Regions from separate parts of the Homo sapiens genome. Here all the other regions are linked to region 1. Evidence: promoter capture Hi-C in 16 types of primary human blood cells and fetal thymus (Javierre and others, 2016). All regions are on one chromosome and are shown on one strand. The core of a region is centred on a gene start or on the middle of the fragment in contact, and the rest is flanking DNA. Distances in the headings are between cores, read along the strand shown. Region 1 holds the start of FCHO2 (FCH and mu domain containing endocytic adaptor 2). Region 2 has its middle 30 kb from the start of ANKRA2. Region 3 holds the start of LINC01386 (long intergenic non-protein coding RNA 1386).

Region 1 (3,493 bases), core at 308-2,807:
ATTGGATAAATATTAATAAAATGTGGAATGGAATATTATTTGACCATAAAAAGGAATTAGTAGTGATACATGCTACATCATGGATAAACTTTGAGAACATTATGCTAAGTGAAAGAAACTGGTCACCATGGCCCCATTTATAGGATATGTCCAGACTAGACAAATGCAGAGAGGCAGAAAATACATTAGTTGCCTAGGCCTGGGGCAGGGGGAAAATGGGGAGTGACTGCTAATGGGTCTAGGGATTCTTTCTGGGATAACGAAATTGTTGTAAAACTGATATGGTGATGTTTACACAACTCTATGAACATATGAAAAAACCTCTGAATTGTACTACACTTTAAATGAGTGTATTGGTACGGAAATGTGAACTCAATAAAGCTGTTTAAAAAACAAAACACCTAAGGTCTAGTATATACGTTCTTTGTGGAAAACAAGGTACATTCAAGACAAATAAATAACTATGAACTGATCTGATTACTAACCAAGACCATGCTTGAGGCACTTAGAATTAAGAATTTAACATACATTCCTTACTAGCTAAAAGATTACCCCTTTAAATATGTCTAAATCTCAACGAAAATGGACCTGCAGTACTTGCAACTGTCAGGGCATAAAATGGGATTCACGAAAGATACCTGAGTAAACACGTTCCTTTCCTGTACATGGCTGAACTGTACTTCCCATTACAAAAAAAAAAACAATAACTGCAGAAAAATACTCCACCGGGAGCCGGAGAAATTCTCAAAGAAGAATCTAATACTGAGCTAAGACAAGGGGTGGAAAGAATGAGGAAGGGGAAGGAGCACAGAGTAGGGGGAGGTCTCCATGCATTTAAGCCCAAGGAGTCCAGTTACATTAAATCCAACTTTTAAACGCTTTGTGAACAGGCCCAGAGGCAAAGTCCTGGGCGCAAACCCACGAGCCGAGCTGCGAGGCTGAGAGGAAGTGCTAGTCCAGCCCAACCCCGCACTGGATTTGGTGTGGAAACCGTCAGAGGTAAAAGGGATCGCTCAGATGGGGGGCCCGCGGTGAGGGCAGGAGGCAAAACCCCACCGCCCGGCGCTCCCAGCCAGCGCGCAGCGGGAGGCGGCTGTGCCGCGGGCCCGTCCTTCGCGTCCGAGCTGCCGCGCACGCCCCGCGCGGAGCGCGGCACCGGGAGCCTCCGGTGGGGCTGGGTCCCGTCTCCCGCCCCATCCGGCGCTTTGTCCCAGCCCCGGTGGCCGGCGGCCCCGCTGCGGGCCCCCGGGCCGCGGTGACAGCCCCCGTCCCCATAGGGCTGCGAGCCCGGGAGTCCCTATAGGCTGGCGACCGGTCGCCCGCCGGACCTCACCCAGGCGGGACGCGGCAGGAGGACGCTCGCCCTGCCGGAGGGGCCGCCGCCGCCGCCCGAAGCGCACGCAGGCCAAGCTCAGGCGCCAAAAGCCTTGGACTTCGAAACACACGACTTCCAACATCCTAAGCTTACCCAAAAATTCTCGACGAAATACGCCATGACCATCGTGCCGCCGCCGCGCCGGGTTCCGCGTCCGCGCCCGCCCGCCGCTGTGTAAACACGGCCCGGCCCCCACAGCACCCCCGCCTTTCGCCGCCGCCGCCTTCTTCCCAGAGACCGGCCCGCACCTTCCAGGGCGCATGCGCCACCTAGCGGCTGCCGCAGCTGGGCGAGCACTTAGACGCCACGGCCACGGTGTGCGCATGCGCCCTGTCCCCATTCTCGGGTGTTGGTAGATCTCTCTGCATCCCGGGCGCGGCTGGGTTGAGTGTTCTCTTAGGAATGGTGGAGAACTGGGTCCTTGAGGAGTCACCGGGGAGACTGCTCGCACTGTTTGTGGTGCGACGGGCACTGGCCCAGGGACAGAGGGAAGAGAAGGGCCAGCCAGCGGCAGTGGAGTCGGCAGGCTGGCTGCCCACTCGCTTTCTCTCCTCACAAGACTCGCTTCCCCGGCCTTCGAGGATCTCGAACGGACTATAGTCTGGACTCGCTGGGCTGGAGGAAACTTGGCCGCTGGCCACCCGGAGGAGACTGAGAAGCCTTTGGTCAACAGGGCGCCTTTCCTTGAACCAAAACAAAACTTTCCGAAGCCGGAAAGGAAACGCCCAGTGTCGCCTGAGAGCCCTGGAGCTGCGCGAGACCCAGGCACTGAGTGCGGCCTCGGCCTCTGACCTCTAACACGCCGGGAACAAACCAGCTGGGGCGGCCCGCAGGCCTGCGGGAGCGGAATGTGACCCGAAACCGACGGACTTCCTGACCCATAGTCCATAGTTCTCTTCAGCAACTTGAACATTTTGGAAAAAGAAACAAGTCTTAACATGCCACGACCTAATGGAAAAACTAAATCCCCTTCCTACACCTTGCTTTCCAAAAGTTAAAAAAAAATAGTTAAACGCTATTAGAGGTCTCAAGTTCACTGTCACCAGATCAGCTAGGTCCAGAATCTTCAGTTCTTGAAGCCAAGCCCTACAAATAGATTTATTGTAGCATATCACACCTCTTCAGGTGACTTAAAACAATGAGAATTCATGAGAAATTATCTTCATCCTCAAGTAAAAATCATGAGGTGCCTTTCACATGGATGAAATTGTAAGTGCTTGTTGAACAAGGAATAATTGGATAATGGTATTGTGGTCATACTTTTTAAGAATATCTGTTAGAAAGATATAGGATGCAGAACATCTAGGATTTGCTGAAAGTCATTTATTATGGATAGGGGTATGAGTAAGGTCATAGATGAAAAGGGATGAAACAAGATTGGCCATAGTTGCTCTATTTTTGTGTATCTTGTTTCTTTATTTTGTTTCTTTAAAAAGTCCTCATATCACTGACATTTACACTTAGTTTTAGGGAAAGTCAAATTTAGAAATAAGCTACAGCTCTCTAAGCTATCGGTCTAACTGGATTTTTCTCGATGCTGAAGAACTTTTTAAAAAATTCAGCCATCTAGGTCACACAGCAAATACATTTGGCATTAAATTCCTAGTATCACTAAAGTACTCCCTCCCACCGCCGCGCCCCCCCCCTTCCCCCCGCACCCTTAGACCTGGGCAAGAGAGACTTCTATCCTGGACTCCATGCTTTAAAGGAACTTACATATCACACACACACATTAATTTAAAAAAAAATAGGTGCCCCTGCCGCTTGTGATCTGATACTGAACACTGGCTCATAACCATAAATTCCCTCTCCCAGTGAAGAACACTATTCAGGCCCCAGGAAAACTCTTCTTCCTATCTTTTGTCTTCTGTCCTCAAAACAAACGGTGAACTCCAAAAGCAGTGAAAATTTGTACATAGCATGGCTGCCCATTTCAGAGACTGCTTTGGAGTCAGAATTTGAGCAGCAGAAATGCTTAGGTAAGAGAGAAGACAAATTAACTTGTCAAATCCTTCATCTCAGCTTGAATGCTATAGATTCCTGCATGACAAAGTATTGTTTCTCAGTAGTATCAAGCATACATTTTCCTTTTGTTAGTGTTCCAATGTGTGGCTATTA
Region 2 (3,493 bases), core at 559-3,058, 580 kb before region 1:
CAGGAAGTCAAATTATAGTTTAGGATCAGGATCATTATTTAAAGGTGTACTATGGTAAATTTATGGTAATTTTTTCCCCCTCATTTTAACCGCTCTGAAAGCAGGATGCAGTCAATGCTGTCGTACAACAACTGTCCGCCAGGTGGCAGTCGTGATGTAGTACGAAATGTGAAAAATCATTGACATCTGTTAGGATCCAGCAATAGTAGGCCGGGCACGGTGGCTCACGCCTGTAATCCCAACACTTTGGGAGGCCGAGGCGGGTGGATCACCTGAGGTCAGGAGTTACAGGCACGCACCATCATATCCAGCTAATTAATTTAAAAAAATTTTTTTTAGAGACAGGGTGTCACTATGTTGCCCAGGCTGGTCTCAAATTCCTAGACTTAAATCCTCCTGCCTTGACCTCTCAAAGTGCTAGGATTACAGGCACGAGCCACCGCACCTAGCCATGTTCACTCTTATGGATGGCAATGACAATTATAATGCAAACATTTTAGCTGTTAGCTTGTGGGACAAACCTCTTCCAGGGTGGAGAGTGGAGTCAGCAGTACACATGTATCACCCTTTAATCTCTCAGTAGTTTCCTATTCTTGCCTCTGCAAATTATCTCAAATTTAGTGGCTTAAAACACACAAATTTGTTTTCTTAGAATTCTGTAGAAGTCCAATGAGAATCCCTCTTTGCTAAGATCAAGGTGTCGGCAGGTCTGTGTGTCTCCCTTTCTGAAAGGCTTAGGGGAGAATCCGCTTCCTCACCCTTTCCAGTGTCTAGAGGCTGCCACAGCCCCGGGCTCTCAGCCTCTTCTCGGTCTGTAAAGCCAGCAATGCCGCATCACTCTGGCCCCACTTCTGTCATCTTAGCTCCCTCTGATTCTCTCTTCTGCCTCCTTCTTTGACTTTTAAGAGTGGTTGTGCGGCCGGGAGCGATGGCTCACACTTGTAATCCCGGCACTTTGGGAGGCCGAGGTGGGCGGATCACCTGAGGTCAGGAGTTCAAGACCAGCCTGACCAACATGGAGAAACCCTGTCTCTACTAAAAATACAAAATTAGCCAGGCGTGGTGGCGCAAGCCTGTAATCCCAGCTACTTGGGAGGCTGAGGCAGGAGAATCGCTTGAACCCAGGAGGTGGAGATTGCGGTGAGCCGAGACCGTGCCATTGTACTCCAGCCTGGGCAACAGGAGTGAGACTCTGTCTCAAAAAAAAAAAAAAAAAATTCTGTTGTGCTTACACTGGCCTCACTCAGATAATCTAGGATAGTCTTCCTATTTTACGGTTGACTGATTAGCAACCTTAAATCCTCTCTGCCATGTAACCTAACAAAGTCACAGGTCCTGGGAATTAGGATGTGGATATCTTTGATCTCTGGGGGCCTATTATTCTGCCTACTAAAGTCCTTCTCTGTCTTCTACAATACTTAAAATGAATCTCAAAGCCCCAGTTTAAGAAAAAAGTGGCCATTTCCCCTTTCTCTTATCCATTGGTGTAGCTCTCCTTGAATGGTTGCCACGATCTTCAAAGAGAGGCTCCGAGCTCATTACTGTCTCCCATTTACAGTGTTAAGAAGGTGCTTCAATTTCTTTCCAGGATGAGGAAGTCATTTCAATTTGCCATAAATCTCTGTGCCCATCACTGCCCTGACCTTGTAATAATTAAATCTGCTACATGTCTTTTTCCCTTTCAATAGCTAAAACCTCAACCCTCCTCCTGAGGAAAAACATCTGCCCTCAGCCTTCTCAGAGTGTCTATCACCTTCACTTTCTCTGTCTCGATGGTTTATGGGAAGTCTTTTGACTAAAAGACAATGATTTGCTCTTGTCTTTTAAGCTGCCTTCATTTTGCTGAGTTTCTGATTATTTTCATCCTCCAACTGTGGTTTTTCCAGAGTCAGAGAGTTCCAGGCACAGAGCTTTTCTCTAAGCTCTCAGCTTGTAACTATTCTACCAAGTTGTTTAACCATCTCAATCCAAGAAGAGGATACAATCTTTGTATAATAGGAGTCCCCATTCCTCTTTTTCTGTTCACTGAGAAAATCCTTATATTAAACTGAACCCATAATCTGGGTCCCTGACATCCAAGAACATACTCAGAATTTATTTAATGACTATGTGAGGTGTTGAGCAATCAGTTTAGTCAATTAGAACAACAAGCCGCACTGAGAGTCATGGCTTTATTCATTTATCGTAATGGTGCAAGCAAGAGAAGTGCTGGCTCCCCAGGGTTCCATTTTCATCATGGAACAGCACTGAAAAATAGAAATGAAATCCTAAGCCCCCCAGCTGATGGAACAGACCTCCTCTTGGCCAAGGAGACCCCAGAGAAACCTTGAGCCTGAGTTCCCAACAATGATGGGATGGAAGGACAGACATACCTCGTTATGCACCCTCCCTCCCTCACTGCCTGCCATTGGGCTTTCCTCCACAAGGGCTGAACAGAAACCAGCCCTTTCAAAAGACCCCACCATGGATATCCACCAACAGCCTGACACTGCCCCTCCTTTTTTGCCTGATAAGTGACCACTGACCAGTGGTTCTGGCCAGTCTATGGAAATGCACAGTGAGGGTTTTTGTGTCCTCTGTCACACCTTTTGACATCAGAGGGCTGAAAACTACACCCTCAGATCATACTAATGCCGATATTGTTTGAACGTGAGTCCCATGGAGAGGCATGAAGCGCCATTGCATATGCACATATCTTTTCTTTCATAACTATCCATGACTCCTCCTTGAATATGTATATTTGACCACCTTGCTCAGCATGAATTCCTATTCCCTTTGCCCCTCCCTCAAAGTGTCCGTTTCTGGCTTCTGGCCAAAGGCTATGCTTCCCAGCCTGTCAGAATGGCCACCCTGCAGGCTGCAACCCTTTACAAGAAATAAAGCTCTCCTTTCCACATGTAGGGACTTCATCATTCTTCAGTTGACAGCATGGAGCAAATGGGTTGAGTCACCACACTGTCCAGAAGCCAAGAATAGAAGGCTTGTGCCTCTTCATGACTGCCTGTGGGCTTGGGGAGAGAGAAGAGTGTGGGGGCCAAGGCCCTTGACTCCCTAAATGTTCACTGAAAAAATTACTGACATGAGGCAGATTAATAGGAGACAAGGCATACGAATTTATTTAATGTGTATATACAAGAGCCTTCAGAATGAAGACCCAAGCTCCCAGTGAGGTACAGGAGCTTGTATACTGTGGATGAAAAGAGCCAAACTCCATAAAATTTTGAAAAGATTAGTTCTGAGTAAAATATGAGTGACCATGGCCCAAGGCGTGGTCTCACGAGATCCTGAGAACATGTGTCCAAGGTGGTTGGGTTACAGCTTGGTTTCATATGTTTTAGGGAGACATGAGACATCAATCATAATGTACAATATACATTGGTTCCATCTGAAAAGGTGGGACAACTAAAAGTAGGGTGGTGAGGGGCTTACGGATCATAAGTGGATTCAAAGATTTTCAGATAGGCAATTGGTTGAAAGAGTCAAGTTACCTAAA
Region 3 (3,493 bases), core at 251-2,750, 520 kb before region 1:
GACTCCATCTAAAAAAAAAAAAAAAAAAAAAAATTCAAAACTGGTACTTTTCTAGCAAAAGCAACAGTTGAAAATAACTGATTTTCTAAACATGAATGTTTAACTTTTGCTTCATATGAAAAAATAACTTTTTTTTTTTTAAGAGGCAGAGTAGCTCGAGTGTAGTGGTATAATCATAGCTCACTACAGCCTCAAACTCCTGGGCTCAAGTGATCTTCTTGCCTCAGCCTCCCAAGCAGCTAGGAATACAGGCTTGAACCACCACACCTGGCCAATTTTTCTATTTTTTGTAGAGTTGGGGGTCTCGCTATGTTGCGTATGCTGGTCTTGAATTCCTGGCCTCAAGCAATCCTTGTGCTTTGGCCTCCCAAAGTGTTGAGATTACAGGCATGAGCCACTAGGCCCAGCTGAGAAAATAACTAGACAGTCATTATTTATTCCGATATTGTTGATATTTTTTCTTTTCAGCACTTGACATATTTATTGATAGTTGAATAACTTTTGTAGGATTAAATAGTAAAATATATATCATTTTAATTTAATTCTCAAAGCTCAAGTCACACACAAAAATACTGAGGATCAAATATAGACAATATACTCAAGGCAGCCGATAACAGCCAATAGGCACAAAAAGGCCACCTCTAATGGACTGAGCAATCAATTGAGAAGTCCCCCAGTCACAGCCATCTACTCACCATAGTTTTGGTACCAATCTAGAATACATTTTGTGTATCTGCTATGTCAATACCAACCCCACTGAGTTGGGAGTCCTTGAGGGGCAGGCACTCTTTTGATCACCAAGCTGGTTTCTTTGTTTGGATCCCTGCAATCTGTTGTTGAAATGAGGTGTCCAGATTTGAATATAGTATTCTGACACAAAGTGGAGAAAAAGGTTATCTCTTCCCCTTTTTTAGACAGCATTTATCTAGTAACACAGTCTAAGATTGCATGGGGTGAGGAGTAGCCTGAATGGCTCTCTAAAGTCTGTTAGTAGTGGGCCAGGTGTGGTGGCTCTCACCTGTAATCCTAGCACTTTGGGAGGCTGAGGCCAGAGGATCACTTGAAGCCAGGAGTTCATGATCAACCTGGGCAACACAGTGAGACCCCTTCTCTACAAAAAATTTAAAAATTATCCAGATTTGGTGGTGCATGGCTGTAGTCCCAGCTACTAGGGAGGCTGAGGTGGGAAGAGTGCTTGAGCTTGAGAGATCAAGGCTGGGAGTGAGCCATGATTGCACCACTGCACTCCAGCCTGGGTAATAGAGCAAGACCCTGTCTCAAAAAGAAAAAAAAAAAGGTCTATGCATAGTGAACTGAAATCCCTAAGCCTTTCCTTACATATCCTGCTGTTATGATGAATTGTTCCTGGAACATAGGTGTGACTGGCATTCATACTTGTTACATTTCATTATTAGAATCTCCCCATTATTCTGTCATGTTGAGATATTTAAAGATTCTGATTCTATCATCCAATATATTTATTCATTCATGTATTTATACTTGCTTTTCTAAAGATATTTTCATAAAAGTTAATAAGAACAGAAACAAAAAAATCAGTATGAGGAAAAGAAGCAAAATTTCCAGTTCCTAGAGGTAACATATGTGCTGAGTTTGGGCATGTGAAGTGTAAATCTAAGCTTTACCTTAAAAGGGAGGATTATATTCTTCTTTATGCATCTTCCATTGCCGGGAGAGAATGGGTCTAAACAGGTTGTCTTGGGAGTTATACATATTTACTTTTTCAAAATAAAATACACTTGGCACCTGAGATTTAACCACTTAATATATATCAGCATACACTGTAAATTGTAAATATAACTGGAAAAACAGAATTTTGTAAAAATGCAAAATATGGTCTTTTTCATGCCCATAATACAATAAAGCATTTTATCATTTTGACCATATTAACTTATGTTAACAGTATGACATCAAACACGGAGTCAATGAGCAGCACAATTTTGGGGGAAAAAAGATCTTACTACTGATATTCTCTATAATAAAGGGAAGAGAGTGTTTTTGACTTGAATTTTTTGGACATTTGGCCGAATCCTTTACTCAGTGAGAATTGACTTGGCTTATGAGAGTTAATTCATACCATTTGGAGGCTGAAGCAGTTATAAAGCTGCTTTGGAATGTCCTAAATTGGGCCTAAGAGACCTGTTTTTGACAGATGCGCTCATGTAGTCCAGTCAATTGGCATATGGAATTTTAATGTACAAGCTAGTGCAAAAGTTTCTACATGTAACATTTATTAGTGCTCCTAGTGGCATGGAGAGACAGATGGTACACACATTACATGCAGAAGCGAGCTTTGCAATTGGCCTTACAGGCCCAATTTTGCTCAGTTACCTAGGTCCCTTAACTGCACCCCCATACTCCCCACCCCCACACACGTGTGAGAGCCCAAATGCCCAACCCTTCCATCTCTCCTGCCCCAGAGTCCACTATGGGAACCTCCCTTTCCTTCCAATTGCTTGACTTGAGATCTCCCTTCTTTCTTGCCCTTTCTTTGGCCCAGATCCTCACCTCCTCTGGATTTTCACATCCTCCAGCTGGTCCAGCATGAGCTCTGGAGGCTAAGGTAGGGAAGAACATTGCCTTACAGCTGTTCTCAGTCCCCACCCACCCCTAATATTAGTCTTGGCAACATTCATCCCATTTCCTCACATTTATCCCAGACTCCTCTCCTGACATCTCAGCTCTAGAAATGAAATGCTCAGGTCTACAAGAGCTGCAGAGAGATCTTCTGTCCCAGATAGTCCCAAAGAAAACTCAGGGGTGGGGAAAATGTCTTCCTTCCTTCTCTGTAATATCTAAATGAAATAGCAAAAGAGGGGAGTGCTGGGTGGAGCCTTTTTGCCTTTTCAGTCCCTGCCCCCTTCTCTGTTGTTACTGGCAATACAGACCCTTAGAAGCTAAAAAAAAAACCTTAAGGATGTGTGTGTGTTTTTAAAAGGTATGTCTGGGGAGGCGGAATGCTGAGTCTGAATTCTCTTCTTCACTGGCCCAAAGAGGAGAGAAATTCTGTTCAGAAGTTACTAAGGGCCAGCTGCTGTGGCTCAAGCCTGTAATACTAACACTTTGATAGGCTGAGATGGGCAGATCCTTGAGCCTAGGAGTTGGAGGCCAGCCTGGGCAATATGGCGACACCCCACCTCTACCAAAAAATACAAAAATTAGCCGAGCATGGTAGCATGTACATGTAATCCCAGCAACTCAGGAGGCTGAGGCGGGAGGATCACCTGAGCCCAAGGAGGTTGAGGCTGCAGTGAGCCATGATCATGTCACTACACTCCAGCCTGGGTGACAGAGTGAGATCCTCTTTCAAAAAGAAGAGAAAAGAAAAAAGAAGAGAAAGGAAAACAAAAGAAAAGGAAAGAAAATAAAAGAAAAATAGCTACTAAGAGTGGCAATGGTAAAGGAAGTGGGTGGGCTGGGTGACTGAGAGGCAGCTTGGAGATTCATTAGCAGGAAATCCTGACAGTCGGCAACT

The links. The method cuts DNA at HindIII sites, captures the fragments that hold promoters and counts their contacts. A CHiCAGO score of 5 or more calls a contact.
Region 2: a contact is called between a fragment that was not itself captured here and the fragment with the promoter of FCHO2 in region 1, in 1 of 17 cell types (neutrophils). The highest score is 5.2, in neutrophils.
Region 3: the fragment with the promoter of LINC01386 here is called in contact with the fragment with the promoter of FCHO2 in region 1 in 2 of 17 cell types (naive CD4 T cells and neutrophils); the score reaches 5.3 in naive CD4 T cells.

The regions. Positions count from the first base shown.
Region 1 is chr5:72,954,105-72,957,597 of GRCh38, reverse strand. It overlaps FCHO2 (FCH and mu domain containing endocytic adaptor 2), which reads right to left and starts at 1,557. Exons shown (of 26, transcript NM_138782.3): 1 at 1,469-1,557. The coding sequence starts at 1,501. It overlaps FCHO2-DT (FCHO2 divergent transcript), which reads left to right and starts at 1,714. Exons shown (of 2, transcript NR_186392.1): 1 at 1,714-2,584. RefSeq lists a silencer at 965-1,664. The HindIII fragment of the contact is 4,273 bases long and covers 1,466-3,493 here.
Region 2 is chr5:73,533,643-73,537,135 of GRCh38, reverse strand. No RefSeq gene overlaps it. Among named protein-coding and RNA genes, the nearest start is that of ANKRA2, 30 kb to the left of the region's middle. The HindIII fragment of the contact is 7,488 bases long and covers 1-3,493 here.
Region 3 is chr5:73,470,973-73,474,465 of GRCh38, reverse strand. It overlaps LINC01386 (long intergenic non-protein coding RNA 1386), which reads left to right and starts at 1,500. Exons shown (of 5, transcript NR_126410.1): 1 at 1,500-1,593; 2 at 2,519-2,581. The HindIII fragment of the contact is 6,957 bases long and covers 1-1,639 here.